Regions from separate parts of the Homo sapiens genome. Here all the other regions are linked to region 1. The links are contacts of gene promoters, found by promoter capture Hi-C in human tissues and cell types (Jung and others, 2019). All regions are on one chromosome and are shown on one strand. The core of a region is centred on a gene start or on the middle of the fragment in contact, and the rest is flanking DNA. Distances in the headings are between cores, read along the strand shown.

Region 1 (2,937 bases), core at 405-2,904:
GCAGATTTTCTTGGGCAGATTCCAAGAGGTGTTTACATCCAGGGTTGCTCCCTCCCCTTGTCTCCCAGCTCCTCCCAGGATGGATGGTACAACCCCTGTTTACCCAGATGCGTTTTAATAATCGAAACACCCAAGCACCTGTTTTTTTTTTTTTTTTTTTTTTTTTTGCCACTAAGGAACTATCAAGTAAAGTGTCAAATATAGTACAGTAACACAAAGGGCGCGAATTAGGAGCGGGTGCAATATCTGGAGAAGCGACTGGGGAAGGAGAAAAGGAGAGGGGAAGGCGTCTTATTCAAGTATGATTTCTCTCGGGTCCTGGCATTGGCATAAAATGGCATCTGCCTCTTAGTAAACATGGCTAAAGCCCAGTCCAAAGGAATTTCCGCTGGCCGATTTAGGAATCAACAGAATAAGGTACCCTAGAGGTGCTCCAGTCACTCAGGGCAGGAGGCCTCACAGGCATGGGGTGTCGCCCCTTCCCTTTTTCCACGAAGCTCCTCCAGCCTACCCCTCCACTGCTCCGCGCCTTCATTCTATTTCCCCCTCTCACTTTGGATTTGAAAACTGGGCTTACAGGAGATGCAGCTGGCGACACGCGGGGTGTGACTGGACGGAGGAATCCAGAGGGCAGCTGAGGAGGGCGGAGAAAGGTCCCTAGGCAGCGCCACCAAGCAAGGGGCAGACAAGGAAGCTGTGGGGGGTCCCGGGAGAAAGCTGGGGCGGGACCGCGGGAAGGGAGTCTCACCTCGCGCACTCACCTGCTGCTGCCGCCCGAAAGCTGCGAACCGTGTTGCCTTCGCGCAGGAGCCGAGGGCGCCAGGGCTGCGAGCCTCCCTCCAGGGAGCCCGGTGTCCGGGCCGCCTGGACCGTGCTGTACCTGTCATAGAGCCGCAGCATGTGTTCAGAGACCTTGTCTTGCGGCTGCAGCTCGGAGTCCGGGCCACCACCTGCCGTGCGGTCACCTGGCACAGCTTTGCGGAGCTCCGGGAAAGGTGGCTTCGGTCTCTCTCCCTGCGCCAGGCTCACGCAGAAGCAGCCCAGCCACAGAAAGAGCAGCCTGCTCGCCCCAGCCATGGCTAGGTACCCGCGCGGCGCGTCGGCTCCCGGCGTCGCTGCGGGACACTCCGAAGGCGCAAGGAGCCGGCGGCGGAGCCGAGGGTTGAACTCCAAACCAGCTGGGGCGAGGGCGCACGGAGCCCGGGACGCGGCCGGGTGCAGCGAGATAGCGGCCAGCCCCACTTGCTGCGCTGACCCAGCGCAGCCTGACAGGTGGGCTCTTCCCCAGCAGCTGCGCGGACCTCACCCGCGCAGGGCGCTGCGGGCGCCGTCTCCACTCCAACGCTGAGAAAGAGCTGTAGGTCGCGGCGTGTGTGGCCCGGGTGTTTTCAAGATCTGTCTGTACCTTCCCTCCTCGCTTTATTTTTGGGAACACCCGGCCAAACTGGCCGCGCGAGGGACTAGGACTAGCTCTGTTTTGGGCGCCAGGTCGGAGCCGGGGCTGTGCGCAGCGGTCCGGAGGGCGCTCGATTGCCTTTTCCAGGGATTGGAGCAGCTGCGGCGCGGCTGGTCCGAGTTTTTTAGTGTACGTGTGTGTGTGTGTGCGCGCGCGCGCGCGCGTGTGTGCGTGTGTGTGTGTGTATGAGAGAGAGAGACTTAGTTCTTTCGCTCTCTAGCTGATCTGTAGAGTCCTCAGCCAATCTCTCCCACTCCCTCGTCCTCGCCCTCTTAGCTTGCACCAGGCTGGGATAGAAGCAAGGGAGGGGGGGAGTAACCAGAGAACTGGCAGCGGGAGGGAGAGAAGAGGAAGTAGGGGTGGGGATGGCTGGGGAGAGGAAGGGAAAAGGAGATTCAGGACTAAAGAAATGGTAGGAGGGACGGTTTTTTTGTTTTGTTTTGTTTTGTTTTTGTTTGTTTTTTTTTTTAATTCTCCAAGAACAGTGGCTGTGTGGTGGCTAGCAAGAGGGCAGAGGAAAACAGAACTTCTTCCTGGCTTTTCGGTCTTATGATTCCAAACAAAGTCACAACGTGAACACCATTCTCGCTTACTTTCCCGAGCCTCTTCTGACGGACACTGCGGGCCCCTGCACCTGCAGCCCGTCATCATAGCTTCCTGTCTTTCTGAGAGCATACCCATCATAACGCCCCTCTCTCCCGCATCATCTTCTCTCGAGGTGAGAAATATGTGCGAGTCAATATCATGTTAAAAACAAATAAGAAAACAAGCAAACACACCACAACCCCACCTACAGCTTCCCCCAAAGGTTTCCTTCCTACAGGTCCCCAAAAGGTTTCCCAGCAGGATGGTGCAGTGGTGGCTAAAAACAAGGGTGTGTGGAAGATCCCGGAGTCCGGAACAGAATGTAAGAGTCGCTAGCTTTGTCTTCCTAATTCTCTCTTGTCATGGCTGTACAATGGAGATTAAACTATGAGCAGCCTGGCGCAGTGGCTCAGGCCTGTAATCCCAGCACTTTGGAAGGCCAAAGCGGGTGGATCACGAAGTCAGGAGTTCGAGACCAGCCTTGCCAACATGGTGAAACCTCATCTCTACTAAAAATACAAAAATTAGCTGGGCGTGGTGGTGCGCACATGTAATCCCAGCTACTGGGAAGGCTGCGGCAAGAGAATGGCTTGAATCCAGGAGATGGAGGTTGCAGTGAGCCGAGATTGTGCCACTGCACTCCAGACTGGGTGACAGAGCAAACTTTGTCTCAAAACAAAAAACAAACAAACAAACAAAAAACAACTGTGAGCTAACATTTTTCTCCACACTTATGCTCTAGACATGCCTTGTTATTTATATTTCAAGTATATTACCAAATAATTTTCACAGCAAAACCCATTTTACAGATGAGGAAACTGAGGCAAAAGGATACATAGTAAGTGACAGAACTGAGATCCAAATTCAGGGAGTCTGATTTCTGGCCTCAGGCCAGA
Region 2 (2,786 bases), core at 40-2,539, 380 kb after region 1:
CCATTCTAGCTTTTACAGACTTGAGTTTAAGATATATAAAATACATTTCCTGTCATGATTCCAGAATATTTCTTTTAAAATCAGTATTTCATCATATTGTATCCGGCAGCAATAGACGATAGCTTATTTTTGTATTTTTCAGTGTTACTTTTACTTCATCTTAAATATTTTCTTGTCATAATGTTAGAGAGATTGCTTAGCCAGAAATTAGATTACTGGAAATAGTAAATGCACAACCGATATGTTATGGATAATTAAATGGATAATACCTATTGTAGTCAATCAGTCTCACCGAAAGTTTTGACTGTCTGTCATTTATTCTGTATAGTACACAAACTCCTAGAGAATTATTTTTAAATAAAGGTAAAAGATTAAGTATTATTAATTAACTGGCATCGCCCTAGAATTCACTCTTAATGTCTTTTATTAAAATATTACATTTTGTGGGTCTGACTAAAGAGACTAGGAAATAAAAGTGTGTGGATGTTTGTTACTTCAACAGATGAAAATACATATTTTAATTTTTTAAAAATAGTAAGTTAGAATAGCTAGGTATGATGGTTACTACCTATAATTCCAGCACTTTGGGTGGCCAAGGCAAGAGGATTGCTTGAGGCTATTAGTGCCTGAGCCATAGAAAGAGACCTCGTCTCTACCAAAAAAAAAAAAAAAAAAAAGTTAAAAATTAGCTCGGCATGGTGGCATGCATGCCTATAGTCCCAGCTACTCAGGAGGTTGAAGTGGAAGGATTCTTTAAGCCCAGGAGATTGCAGTAAGCTATGATCTATGATCATTGCCTGTGCATTTCAGCCTAAGCAACTGAGTCAGACCCATTCCCTCATCTCAAAAAGCTTAGAATAATGAATATTGAATTGCACAAATTATTAACTCAGTGCAATATAGAAGGTGGATCTGTGGACATGCTTACAGTTATGTGTTTATTTTAATTTCTGATGGCATTTTGCCTTCAAATAATCATTCATTTAGAACAGAAAATGTTACAATAGATTAATGAAACCTAAAACACAGTTACCCTAAAGGCTGAAGAAAGGAAGAAAGCCCAAGAACTATAAACATACTATCCAGACATTGGAGCAACAGAGTTTACAGAAAATTCCATGAGAAATCTTCCAGACCAATAAATACCACCAAAATATCTGCTCTGAGTAAAACTCCCAGGTGCCTTTATCCTGAGGGCATAAAAAATAACTGAATGCACTTTATCTATTTTGAACACAGGCAATTAAAAAGACACAAAGATTTGTAAAACATGAATTCAATAATGTATTGCTACTATTGATCATATTAATCTTTAAGCTTTAAGAAACTGCCCATCATTCCCCAGTACCGCAATGTCATGGAGCTTTTTAACAGGTTAGCCATAATTTGAGCAAACTGTATAACCCAAATGTCATAACTGCAGAGCAAGCATCTGAAATAAACTCAGCTCAATGCATTAGTTCTTTCCCACCACATTATATTAGCATGATATGCATACCCACATATATATAAACACATATTAAAGATGTATGAACAAATAGGACACAAACTTGATGGCAGTAAATCATTGTATAAAACACTCATATGAAATGTCCAGCAAGAAAAGACTACTACATTATTGTTTAACACGAATAACATCTTAAGACTATGAAAATTTTTTCAATATTAGAATTTAGTATTTCAAGTGATAGACAATGGTTTTGGTGAAAATACTTAAAAATGTATTGTATGCTTCAAACACATTTTAATGTAAAATGAAGTTTTTCTTGATACTATCCTTTTATTATATAAAGCATTGTGTCCTTGTGTTACATTCAAAACGAATATAAATGGAAGTGCTAATATGTTTTTTTCATACACTTTACTTGCTCATCTTTCTGTCCCTCTGAGGTATGTGTTTGGGGACCACTGATAAGGACAATGAGAAGACACTGTAATTTTTGAACAGGAGAATGGCATTGACAGAAGAATATGCTATAGTGTTCACCTTGGGTAGAAAGCATATTTGAGTAGATGACATTATAGATCAGTAGGAGGCCATTTGTAATTTTTTAAATTTTTGTACTGTATACATAATCCAGTTGAGTAAAAATGAAGCCCTAAACTACAACAGAGGGATGGAGAAAAGGAGACAGATGGCAAAGGAAACATCACTAAAAATGGAGAGGTGAGGAGGAAATGGCTTTAGGATATCTCCTGTGTGCCTTACCTGAACCATCAGACAGTAGATCTGCCGTTTGTCAAAATGTGGGACAGAAAGAGGAGGTTTTGGATAAGTATGAAAAACTATGCATTCAGTTTTATGTATATCTGATATACAAGTGTGCATATAGCTGAATACAGAGGTTTGGACCTGAGAAAAGAGATGTAGGATGGAAACCATCACTTCACAGTTTTAAGCAGACAACAAAAGCAGGGTACATTGTCTCTAAATTCACATGAGAAATACAAGAGGAGGGGACTCTACTTCTTTTATTAACAGCTTTCAAAGATGAACTTACTATACTTCCTGATTCCCTATGTGGAAAACATGGAGCATGAGTATGCAATTCCAGGGCAATAAGGCATAGGCACGTCAACTTTGCATTGGAGGCGAGTCGGATTTGAGAACTCAAGTTTATTTGTATGACGCTGGGGAGAACTTCCCTAGGATATTTCTTCAGAGAAAACTCTGGACACCAAAACAAGGAGGGCTAAGCACCAGAGAGGAATGAGGGAGCACTAGAGGCAGCACAGAGACATGAGAAGTGTAGTTGGTCAACACAGTGTGAGAAAATGACCAGGAA
Region 3 (2,931 bases), core at 236-2,735, 310 kb after region 1:
TTATACAAAATGGTGATAAAAATGTCAACCTAGTTGGGTTGTTGATAAAATTAGAACTAATGAATGTAAAACATTCTTGACACATAGCAGGTATTGGATATACAGTCATTCTTGTTTTCATAATTATTAATACATTCTCCTATAAAGAGACATTTGTAATTTTTTGAAACAATGATCCTGAGACATAAATAACTTAAAGGCCTGTCTGGAATACATTTTGGGGGAATTCAGGACTTTAGATGTTTTTTCTACCAGTAGTTGGAAAAAGACTAGTAGTCATATGTGATTTCTGCTGACCTGAATTTATTTCCAGTAACAGCGGTCATAACAAAGCATTCAAATATGACTTTGTATATCTCAAATGTCATGGGAGAAGCTGGAACTGTACAAGAGAAAATCATTGCCAGACGTTCTGGTTCTCTTCTCTTATTTAAAAGCAGCCAAACTCAACTCATCCTTCAGTTTTCTGCTTACACATGCTCACTTACAAAGGGAGACCATCCCTTTTAGGGTAGGTCAGATACTCCTCTAAGTGGTCCTATGTCACCACCCCACCTTAGTTTACCCTATCATAGTATTCATCACATTTTTTTCATAGTTATTGTGTGGTTATATTTCTTCCTGACATATTGAAAACTTCATAAAAAAGGAAAAACGTATCTGTCGTATTCATTGGTGTAGCCCCAGCACTGAGCAGATTATTTTACACAACATTGGTTACTCAATAAATATTAAATAAATGAATGGGTAAATGAATACATTTCCCAATAGTTGTGCAGGTTTAAATTTAGGGCCAGAGACATCTCTAGAACTTGTGTCTGAAGTAGACACCAGAAAATCAGAAAACACATTCCTTCAAAGGTTTTCAGTAGGTTGCAATTCCTGGGCAACCTCTCTATCACTGACAATCACCACAGACCATCAGAGATCATCTGAATTGGCACTGCTTTGGAACCAGCTAGGACTCCCTAATCCACAGCTATACATTATGTATATACATATTCAGATTCAACTAAACTGGTTTGTAAAGAAGTACCTATGTACCACGATAAAAGACAGGTGCTTTATCATGTAATTTCACTCAGTGGTACAAACTTTAATGGGGCAGGATGCTCATTTGCATTATAAATAAAGAAGTAAGCTACAAAATATATCACAACTAGAGCCAAATCATCTAGCTTGTTAGTGGAAGAACAACGATGCATACAAATGTAATGTAAGCTTGCACATTGGGAGTGAATATTTTGAAGCAAGGCACAATTTGATTGTGTGTGTTTTTCCATGGGTGTATCATGTGTCATCAGTGAACTCAACTGAAGCCCAAATTGATCTGTCTTATAGAATATATTAGGATATATCTTATAGAATATATTATATATATATAGAATATATCAATACTATCCTTATTGACATTCACTTGCTATCAGGCAATAGATTATGTACATTTTCTACATCTCATTTTTCTCATCTGCAAAGTGAAAATACTACGTGCCTTGTTTCTCTCATGAGGTCATGGGAAGAGCAAGCAAGATATCCACATGGAAGTCATATTGCAATAATATAACACTTCAAAATTTTAAAAAGATTGTTAACACAGTTATCCCTATTTTCTTACCCTGTACTTATTTTACTGAGCAAGCTTTGTTTTCTTCTTTATTTGTATTTGTGGGTTTATAGCTTTTAGGTAACTACTCCCAAATTCTTTCAATTCTATCAACATTATCCTAGTTAGTTTGAAGGATTTTTTTCAGATTTAGACATATTAAAAATCAAATTGGATTCCCAGAAAAATAACAATTGTTTACACTGAAAGTTTGCTTTTCCATGGTTATTCTTAAAATGAAGGCGAATTCAAGAAGGTTTGATGAAAACAATATTGGACTTGACTTTTGAACACTGCTCTACATTTATCAGCATTACAGCCCTTAATTTGAAACTTCCATCAATAAAATGGTGGTGATAATTGCGAGTTGTCTTAAAAATCATCAAATTCCATCAAATGGCCAATAGCACAAAAGACTTTGTGCTTTACTCATATAGTCAATATTTAAGAGAAAATGCATTTAAAAGAAAAACGTACATTTTATATATTTTAAACCAGTTTTTGTTTTTTGAAAATAATTTTTTATTTCTAAAAAGCATATGCCATAATGTTAACTAATTTGATGGTAAATTGAATATATTTCTTTGATAACACAAAGTGTAGACCCATTTTGGTCTTTCAGAAGTGCAATATTTATGACAACCCTCAGGAAATTAAAAGGTTTGCTATTACCACATCAGAAACAAGAAAAAAATGTCTGCCATCACAAAACAAAACAAACCTTTTTGTGGAAAGTATTGCTTGATCTGTTATTATCAGCAGCAAATAGACCTAAGCATTGCCAGAATTTATAGGGAAATCAACATATCTGAGGTAAGCCAACTTGTCCTTTTTCCCCCTCTCTTAAACAAGGTTGGGTTATATGGAGGCAGCAAAATGCTTTGTATTTCTTTACTATGTTCCAACCAAATCACATAGCCAAGTTTCAGAATCATTGTGTTTATATAGTGAACTTCAAACACCTATTTCCTAATTTGGATTGATCAGAACATCTTCAAAACATCTGCCCAACTTGGTACTCTGCCCAGGAAGTCTAATAACTTTTGAGAAGAGAAACTAAGATTTATTGGGTAAGACAGGGAACTACCTGGAAAATTGTGAGGTTTTAGTAAGACTATCGGTACTCCTAAACTTGCCAAGAGTCAGCCCTGTGGAATTCAGTAAGAACTCTAGGTAGCTTGAACATAAACTCTTTGATTAAATGCAATTATAAGAAATTGTCATGTGTCAGAATTGATATTTTTTTCCTGGAATAACATACAAAATAGTCAATGTCGGAAGTATGATTAGTAGATTTCCAAAACGGGCTCAATTTTCCTACATGGTAT
Region 4 (2,920 bases), core at 177-2,676, 390 kb after region 1:
GGACGAGAACTCTCAATAGAAATCTACCACACTCGCTCATCTCAAACGTTCAGCCTCTGGAAATGTGAGAAAATAAATTTCTGTTGTTTAAGCTGCCCATCCATGGTATTTTGTTATAGCAGCATGAGCAGACAACCTAATACATATTGAGTGCCCTAAAATATTCGCTGAACCTAAGAGTGACTGCAGGCACCCATGATGGATCACACTTGGCATTGTTGTTGGACTTTGAATTTAACAGGAACTAAAAGAGAATAATAGAACTTACCATCAGAAAATATGATCATTGTGATAATCCAGAAACTCTAGTCAGGGACACAATCCAGGCAGTTAAACTGTGACCTGTAGCTGCATCCTTATATTCTCAGGGAAGCATGACTCAAGTGTTGGACTCCGTGTTTTAAGTCATTGAATAGGCCTGCTCTAGTGTTTCTGATTTCGGAGATCTCTAGTTCCTTTTCTTTGAAATAAGGCTATGTTACTTCTGTGTATTTTTCATGTCAACCTTGCATTCTCATCAAGGGAGACCTATCACTAGACCCAAGAAGCATGGCTAAATAGGCTTCACAGCTTATATGATCACAAATTCATATATCGATAAAGTGCATCATAATCTTCAAATGTTGAAGAAAATGTTCTCAAATTGGAGCCCGTTGGCATAAATTAGCTCCCTTCCACACCCCATTACTAAAACTGAATAAAAGTTCTCCAAGTAGGGGGATCAGGATGGCACTGTGAAAAGGGCCTGCAGCAGGAAGTTGAAGTTACTTGTTTCTGGTCTACCAGCCATGTTCCTACTCTCTGTGTGACTCTGGCAATGAGGCTTTCTGAGTCTCAGTTTCTCATCTGTCAATAAAAAAGGATTTGATGAGCTGGATCTCCTTGAACTCTGAACACTTGAAGATTTCCTGTAGCCACCAAATTTTCTCTCACATAAAATGCTAATTACATGTAGAAAGTTAATAAAAAATATTTTCTTTATTGCTAGAAATCAACCAGGATATTTTAAATTAAATATTTTAGGATAGTCAACTTTGTGTGACAAAAGAAATACAGAGATTGTACTGACTTTAAATGAGGCTTCTCTAGTGAAGAGTTGGAAGCAAGGCAACGTGACCTCAAGTTGAACTACTGTTTGCACATGTTAGTTTTTGAAGGACATGATAGAGGTTATATGCTTTTGTTAATTACTCTTTTTATTATTCTTTTAAGTCATCTAATAGGTTTGTTCTAGTGTTTCTGTTAGGTCCTTTTCTATGGAATGAGACTACCTTACATGTTTGCATCTTTCATGTCAACCTTGTATTCTCATTTGGGTAGCTATGACAAGTAAACGAGTTTGGCTGGTGGAGAGCCTTACATAAAATGAAATGCTATAGTGCTGGGAATTCCTCTTTAATTTTAACTTTAAACTCGATCTTTGGGTTGCATGACTGACCACCTTGTTATTACCTGTACAGAAAAAGGTTCCACCGATAGCAACTGTCTTAGGTCCACAGACCAAAGACAAATGCTGCCATTGTGCAGTCTGGCATAATCTGTCAAGGAAATGCACAGGCATTGACAACCATTTCTTTCCAAAGTCAGGGCATTTCACAGGAAAAAAATTGCATGTCTATCACTTCTCCTTTTACTGTACATTATATTATATCTATTATACCTTGCTGACAATGGCATATTTTTCTCATTTTCCCTCTATTTTGTTGGCATACAATTTAGGGGATATTAACCATACCTCTTTTATAGACCTTCTAAACCAACACTTTATCTTTATTAAACATTATATAGTGGGACTTAGGTTCTTGATCTTTACAAAAAATGAACAAAAGTAATTTATGATAGAACTATTCTTTGTAGCATCCATAGATGAACATAGTCTTTTTTGTTTCATAGTCTTTGTTTTATTTATTGATTCAGAGTGGAGTTTCAAACAATTATTTGATAGGTACATTGAACAAAACTTTTTTCTTTAATTCTGATTATTATTTTTGTGAACAATACTTTTTTAAAAACTTCAATTTTTTATTTTCTAATATATACCTATACCTTAATTTTCTGTACTCGGGGTGGACAAACTTTCTCTACAAGGAACAAGTAAATATTTTAGGTTTTGTTGGCCATACAGTTTCTGTTACAATTAGTCAACTTTGCCATTTGGTGCAAAAGCAGCCATAGAAAATAGGTAAATGAATGAGTACAGCTGAGTACCGATAAAACATTAGGTAGGCTGGGTTTGACCCATGAGCAATTGTTTGCCAGCTCCTGCTCTATCTCAGTCTATAAGAGGTATTATACAAGTCATAAATATAGGATACCAAGATATGTTGATTTAGAACACTTTTCTACCAGCCATGTCACTTTAGGCATGTCTTAACGTATCTGAGCATCGTCATTTATAATTTGAAAGAGTTTAGTCTAGGCAGATGCTATCAATCTCTAATATTTTTATAGTCACTTGAGCAGTCCTTTGACTATTTATGAACAAATGCAAAGAAGCATAATGCTAACACTTGTAAGATTTTTTTAATCTTAAAAATTCTCGTTTGTAAACTTTATTGCTTTTCTTTGAAAAATAAACTTTTATAATTACTCAGTAACACTTCTGAGTGGTTACAAATGAAATGCTCCATTTACTCATAGATGACCTTTTAATATTGAAAAGGAAGGGTCTGAGGATACAATAAAGAGTCACATGAAGTTTAAGGCCACCTGAAAGTTAAGGCTGCTGATCTGGCCAGCTAGGCAGGTGTCACTTTCTTCCTCTCTAATCCCTGTCTGTACTTCTAAAGAAGGAGGAAGGTTTCAGAGAAAGCTTTATTTTTTAATCCTTCTGAGATATATTAGTGACCATGAATATGTGATAATTGTACTAAAAAGATTTGCTATTTTTCTAATTTGAGGCTTCTATTAACTGAGGAGA

What was found. Contacts are between HindIII fragments. The study calls those that stand out against the background at their distance.
Region 2: a contact is called between a fragment that was not itself captured here and the fragment with the promoter of BMP3 in region 1, in 1 of the 25 tissues and cell types used here (H1 embryonic stem cells).
Region 3: a contact is called between a fragment that was not itself captured here and the fragment with the promoter of BMP3 in region 1, in 1 of the 25 tissues and cell types used here (IMR-90 fibroblasts).
Region 4: a contact is called between a fragment that was not itself captured here and the fragment with the promoter of BMP3 in region 1, in 2 of the 25 tissues and cell types used here (H1 embryonic stem cells and IMR-90 fibroblasts).

The regions. Positions count from the first base shown.
Region 1 is chr4:81,029,425-81,032,361 of GRCh38, reverse strand. It overlaps BMP3 (bone morphogenetic protein 3), which reads right to left and starts at 1,654. Exons shown (of 3, transcript NM_001201.5): 1 at 762-1,654. The coding sequence starts at 1,077. The HindIII fragment of the contact is 7,363 bases long and covers 1-2,937 here.
Region 2 is chr4:80,652,676-80,655,461 of GRCh38, reverse strand. The region is part of intron 3 of CFAP299 (cilia and flagella associated protein 299); the gene reads right to left. Among named protein-coding and RNA genes, the nearest start is that of CFAP299, 320 kb to the right of the region's middle. The HindIII fragment of the contact is 4,846 bases long and covers 1-2,786 here.
Region 3 is chr4:80,714,835-80,717,765 of GRCh38, reverse strand. The region is part of intron 3 of CFAP299 (cilia and flagella associated protein 299); the gene reads right to left. Among named protein-coding and RNA genes, the nearest start is that of BMP3, 310 kb to the left of the region's middle. The HindIII fragment of the contact is 4,552 bases long and covers 1-2,931 here.
Region 4 is chr4:80,636,030-80,638,949 of GRCh38, reverse strand. All of the region lies in intron 3 of CFAP299 (cilia and flagella associated protein 299), which reads right to left. Among named protein-coding and RNA genes, the nearest start is that of CFAP299, 300 kb to the right of the region's middle. The HindIII fragment of the contact is 7,577 bases long and covers 1-2,920 here.